Linked DNA regions of Homo sapiens: region 1 is linked to region 2. The links are contacts of gene promoters, found by promoter capture Hi-C in blood cells and fetal thymus (Javierre and others, 2016). All regions are on one chromosome and are shown on one strand. The core of a region is centred on a gene start or on the middle of the fragment in contact, and the rest is flanking DNA. Distances in the headings are between cores, read along the strand shown. Region 1 overlaps SLC39A11 (solute carrier family 39 member 11). Region 2 holds the start of VCF1 (VCP nuclear cofactor family member 1).

Region 1 (2,965 bases), core at 257-2,756, 500 kb after region 2:
GATATAGTTGAAAGTCAATAGCAGAAAAGATACCCATAGTAATTTATTAATCGACAGTTAAGCCCATAGGCGGCATAAGATTAACACAGTCCAAGCTCCAAAGGGCTTGATCCAAGCCAGACCAAGAAACCAGTAGAAGACAGGCAAGCTTTTTGCTCCTCTCAAGGGCTCTTCATAGAATGGTCTACATTTCATCAGGAGCATAGGGGTGGTCTGCTTTGGTAAGGGGATGATAAGGGCAGGTAGTACTCTGAGCAAATGCCAAGGTAGGTGCCAAGGTTTTTTCAGGGCTGGTGGACAAACCGATATGACTGAGATAGAATTTTCTGGTGCTTTAGAGAAGGTATGTCTAAAGGATTGGATTGGCTGGTTGCAGTGGCTCATGCCTGTAATCCCAGCATGTTGGGAGGCTGACATAGGTGGGTTGCTTGAGCCCAGGAGTTCAAGACCAGCCTGGGCAACATGATGAAACCCTGTCTCTACAAAAAAAAAAAAAAAAAAAAATATATATATATATATATATATATATATATATATATATATATATATATATATAAATAGCCAGGTGGGGTGGCATGCACCTGTAGTCCCAGGTACTCTGAATCCTGAGGTGGGAGGACCACCTGAGCCTAGGGAGGTTGAGGCTGCAGTAAGCCGTGATCGTGCCACTGCACTCCATCCTGGGCAATAGAGAGACTGTGCCTCAAAAAAAATAAAACTAAATAAATAAAGGATTGGATTGAGGCAGGAAAGAAACAGGTGCATTACTCAGCAAAAAGTTGGCAACTATGGTGGGTTCCGATGCAGGCAAGAGACATCACCCAAGAGGTAACTCAAACATGCATCTGGCTAAGATAAAATAATCTGGGAGAGCAGGTGGGGAGATAAACCAGTGTGAAGAATGCACCAACTGAAAAAGAATATTTACAGCCCACCCCACTGCTGTGTGTTTTAGCAGCAATGAAGAAGATACTGGATGTTGTGATGACCATGAGAATGAGGACTGATCCCAGGAAGAGCTGTTGCGTACAGAACCCACAGACAGCGTTTGCCAGCTGATTTTGTTGTCGCGTGGAAGGGAGAAGGGAGAATTTGAGTCCAAGTGACAAGGAGACGTAGGTTAATCTCGTGCCGTGGAGTGAACTGAGAGGGAAGAAGGACTCCATTTACACAGATTGGGGAAAGCGTTACCCAGTACAGGCCCAGGGTACACGTGCACCAAGCTAACTGAGCCAGATAGTTTATGACTCCTTTAGTGGAGGGGTTGGCAAACTATGGTCTGCGGGCCAAATTTGGCCCAACACCTATTTCTGGAAATGAGGCTTTATTGGAGCATACGCGCACCCATTTGTTTACATATTGTCTTTGGCTCCATATGTGCTACAGTGGCTGATCTGCATAATGGCCAGAGAAATCTTAAGGCTGAAAAGCTGGAAATACTTACTATCTGCAAAGCTGAAAATATTTACTATCTGACCTCCCTGTTCCTTTGTTCCTTTCCTTTCCCTTTCCCTTTCTTTTTGACAGGGTCTCACTCTGTCACTCAGGCTGTAGTGCAGTGGTGCAATCATGGCTCACTGCACCCTCGACCCCCTGGGCTCAAGCGATCCTCCCACCTCAGCATCCCTCCCAAGCAGCTGGGGCTACAGGCACATACCACCACACCCAGCTAATTGTTGTATTTTTTGTAGAGATTGAGTTTGCCCAGGCTGGCCTCCAACTCCTAAGCTCAAGTGATCTGCCTGCCTCAGCCTCCCAAAGTGCTGGGATTACAGGCGTGAGCCACCACACCTGGCTATCTGACCCTTTTCAGAAAGCGTTAGACCCCTCCTTTAGTGGACACAATCCCTGTTTTTAGCCCATATTCATCATTAAATACTCTGAGGCCAACTGTCTTTTTTATGACCTCTTGCTTGTGCCCTGTCTGTTGAAGCAGGAGGCTTCATATAAACGTCGCCTGTGGCATTATAGCCACCCACAAGAAAAGGAACTATTCCAAGAAGGCACTGTCTTCAGTTCCCACTTCAGGGGTTTCTGACCTGGGAAGAAGACAGGCAGGCACCTCGCCTATCATGTGTGTGTGGCTGCTGCCATCTGGTGTACAGATGCCGTTACTTCCTCACCTTCCTGGAGCCCTCCCCAGCTCCTTCCCATCTGTCCACCTCCCTACCTGGCCAGGTCAGCTTGCACCAAGGTGTTCATTCAGAGGTCATTGTCTCCTGAATTAGGAAGACTCTCAGCCAGCAGAGGGAGGCCTGTAGTTCAAGGGAAACACAGCTTGCTTCTTTCTTTTTTTTTTTTTTTTTTTTTGAGACGGAGTCTCACTCTTTCACCCAGGCTGGAGTGCAGTGGCACGATCTCAGCTCACTGCAACCTCCACCTCCTGAGCTCACACCATTCTCCTGCCTCTGCCTCCCGAGTAGCTGGGAGTACAGGCACCCGCCACCACGCCTGGCTGATTTTTTGTGTTTTTAGTAGAGATGGGTTTCACCGTGTTAGCCAGGATGGTCTCCATCTCCTGACCTCGTGATCCACCCGCCTCGGCCTCCCAAAGTGCTGGGATTACAGGCGTGAGCCACTGTGCCTGGCCCCAGCTTGCTTCTTTCTGTTCTGGTCCCATAGCAGTTTCTTTCTGTTTCAATCACAGAGGAATTCTTCAGACCGTATGTGCTTGGGGAATTGCATGCTTAAGCGGTTTTCCTTTCTGCTGTATCGTCACTTCAAAGAACATGTTCTCTGGAGAGGAGACATGCCCTCAGCTCCCACTTCACTCAGTGGCAGGCATCATTCAAACCAGCAGGGAGAGTAAGACTGTTTATGCTTAAACACTCAGCTTCACATACCACTTCCTGTTTTAAGCTTTGACTAAGCACGCGTCAAGAGACGTTTGTAGTCTGTGGACCTGCCTTGACCTACAGGTGCAGCGGCCATCCCAGAGCAGGCTGTGCACAGCAGAGGAGGCTGG
Region 2 (2,961 bases), core at 462-2,961:
ATAAACGTTTAAATATTATTCAGTACTACAACTGATAATATCTTCTGACTACCAAAGAGATTAAAAAGGGTGACTGAAACCACTTACAAAATAGACACAATCTTCACCAATCCATTCAATAAAGCAACCAACCCACCTTATCCTGTACGAAGTCCTTCAAAACAAAACTGTTTTCTGCCAACAGATTACAGTAATCATTTTTACTTTGTTGTTGTTTGGTCTTTTTTTTTTTGAGATGGAGTCTTGCTCTATCACTCAGGCTGGAGTGCAGTGGCGCGATCTCGGCTCACAGCAACCTCAGCCTCCCAGGTTCAAACGGTTCTCCTGCCTCAGCCTCCCGCGTGGCTGGGATTACTGGGATTAAGGGCGTGCGCCACCACGCCCAGCTAATTTTAGTATTTTTAGTAGAGACGGGGTTTCACCATGTTGGCCAGGCTGGTCTTGAACTCCTGACCTCAGGTGATCCACCCGCCTCGGCCTCCCAAAGTGCTGGGACTACAGGCGTGAGCCACCGCGCCCAGCCTGCTGGGATTACAGGCGTGAGCCATCATTCTTTCTTTCTTTGGAGGTACACACTAACAGGATGAAAGCCACAGACTGTTTGTTTACAATAATACACACAAATGAAGCCAGTCCATGGACCTTCGGCTAACAACGTTAGGAAGGGCTTGACACCTGCTAGACGTTTCTGCCTCCACTCCACCTCACACTCAACCCTACTTGAAAGATCCCGGTACATTCCCACGATAACGTCTATACGTGGGTGTCTGTTTTCTTACCCGAGCTCCTCCAGGAGGATGCTAGTTTTGTGGGTGCTTCTCCCGGATCCCCATGCTTCCCCGATCACCGTTCCCGAGTGTGGCAGAATGAAACGTGAATGTCAGCCTGTGTAGGACACGATCAGACAGGTGACTTGGCAGCATGCACAGTGAGTAAACGCGGCACGATACTGAACCAAATAGAAACACAGGTTCCGGAAAGCAGAGAGTTAAGACCTCCCCAGCCTCCGGGCTCAAGGAGGACCTCAATAGTTCCACTAATCCTCACCCTCACCTCCGGCGCTCTCCAGCCGCCTTTCCCTCCTCCCGCTGCGTTACCAGCCTGCCCACCTCCCCGCACCCTTCCTTTCCCTGAAAGCTGTTCTGATTCTGCCAGCTGTTCTGATTCTGCGGAGTGGATGGGGTCGGCCCGGCAGCTCCTGGGTCAGGGACAGCCGTTCCCGCAGCCCCACCGAGGATTTCCTCCTGCGGTTCCAGGAAGACCCTCCGCCGGCCCCGGCACCCGATTCCCTACCCTCTCCGCTCAGGAGAGTCTCCCCCAGACTTAGAACGTGGGCCGCGGAAAACAAACCCGCCCTTGCAAGCTCCCCACAGAGCACCGTCCTCACCTCGGAAGACCTGAAAGCCCAGGCGGCCCCGGCGACAAGCCCCCCAGGGAAGCCCCCCAGGCCCCTGCCCAACCCCCGGCCAAGGAACCTCGTCAGGCCGTCTGCACCACTGCCGGATAGGTCCGCCTGTTTTAAAATATGTTACACGGATTCAACTCAAATACTTGTATGATATTATTATGACATAATTGAATTTATTTGAAACCTGGCTTGACTTTTATACCGTACCCTCCGTTGGCTGTGAACAGGCGAGCGCTTCTGCCACCCCAGGGGAGGTCCTTTCTCCCAGAAGCTCCTAGTCGCTCCTCCCGCTCCGAGCCCGCCTCTTCCCGTGGGCGGGGTTACCAGTCGGTGCGGTTGGGATGGTGCCACTGCGCAGCCGCGAGAGGGCGGTACCACGGCGGCAGCGACATGGGGGGGCGCGGAGCAGACGCCGGAAGTAGTGGTGGTACGGGTCCGACTGAGGGGTACTCGCCACCGGCTGCGTCCACCCGAGCGGCTGCGAGAGCCAAGGCCCGAGGGGGTGGGCGTGGCGGCCGCCGAAACACAACCCCCTCTGTTCCCTCTCTTCGCGGAGCGGCGCCGCGTAGCTTCCATCCGCCAGCTGCCATGAGCGAGCGCCTCCGTCCCAGGTGAGAGGGAAGGGACCCCCTTTCCATTCGTCGCCTGAGGATCTGGGAGATAGAGCCGAGGGGGCGCGCGAAATGGGGGTCGGAGCAAGAGTGGACCCGGCGGGGCTCCCTGTGGGGTGCACTGCGGGCCGGGGGAGGAGGGGAGAGGGATGCGCGAGTGATCGGATGCTTGGTTCCTGTGGGTAGCTGGAAGGTGACTCTCCGGGGTCCAGGTCTCCCGCCCCTCCATCTTTTTTCCCCCCTGTCTTTTCCTATTTGGAACGAAGTGTGATCGGTCCCGGAAGAGAGACGGTGGCCCTAAAGCTTTCCTGTCCTAAATTTAGGAGGGTGGGGGGATGGGATAAACGTCTCATCTTGGAGAGGGAGCCCCCAAAGGCTTTTGTGAGGGCACCGGGCGGGGAGCTGCCGGCTCCCCAAGGTCAGAAAGAAAGGTTGGGCTTAACCCCGCAGCAGGGAAAGATTCGGTTAGACCGAAGAACTTGTGCCCTGAACGGTTGTGAACACAGAAGGGCAGATGACCAAGGCGGGTTATGGATCTTCTCTTGACTGTGGCATTAAGAACAAGCTGGATTCTAAACTGTTTGGATTGCGGGGCCGTTTGACTCCGAAGGCGGGAGGAAAGATTTTATCGCGATGCACTCGCTACCTTCCCGAGGGAGCCTGGCCTCGGGACGCGGGTCTTAAATTAGGGGTTCTGTGCTTGACATGTACTACTAGAGTCCGGACTAAGTTGGGATTTCTTAATTTTTTTCTCTCTCTTAATTTCCTCTGCAAGAATGTGTGGAGGAGAAAGTTGGGAAAGGTTACCTCAGAATGCTCTTCCTGTTACGGTCTTTCCACAAGGATCCTTCTCTGAAATAATTATTTCATGTGATTGAAGTTCTCAAAAGTATTCTGAGTTTATTTGGTCCCATAGTGAAAACCTAGGGTTCCCCAAGCTGC

What was found. The method cuts DNA at HindIII sites, captures the fragments that hold promoters and counts their contacts. A CHiCAGO score of 5 or more calls a contact.
Region 1: a contact is called between a fragment that was not itself captured here and the fragment with the promoter of VCF1 in region 2, in 13 of 17 cell types (megakaryocytes, fetal thymus, total CD8 T cells and 10 more). The highest score is 22.2, in megakaryocytes.

The regions. Positions count from the first base shown.
Region 1 is chr17:72,726,997-72,729,961 of GRCh38, reverse strand. The region is part of intron 7 of SLC39A11 (solute carrier family 39 member 11); the gene reads left to right. Among named protein-coding and RNA genes, the nearest start is that of LINC00511, 88 kb to the right of the region's middle. RefSeq lists an enhancer at 1,978-2,272. The HindIII fragment of the contact is 2,711 bases long and covers 151-2,861 here.
Region 2 is chr17:73,231,144-73,234,104 of GRCh38, reverse strand. It overlaps VCF1 (VCP nuclear cofactor family member 1), which reads left to right and starts at 1,711. Exons shown (of 4, transcript NM_001098832.2): 1 at 1,711-2,019. The coding sequence starts at 1,799. MTNAP1 (mitochondrial nucleoid associated protein 1) reads right to left here and starts at 1,672. Exons shown (of 6, transcript NM_001351264.2): 1 at 1,616-1,672; 2 at 780-885. RefSeq lists an enhancer at 2,218-2,961. The HindIII fragment of the contact is 5,222 bases long and covers 1-2,324 here.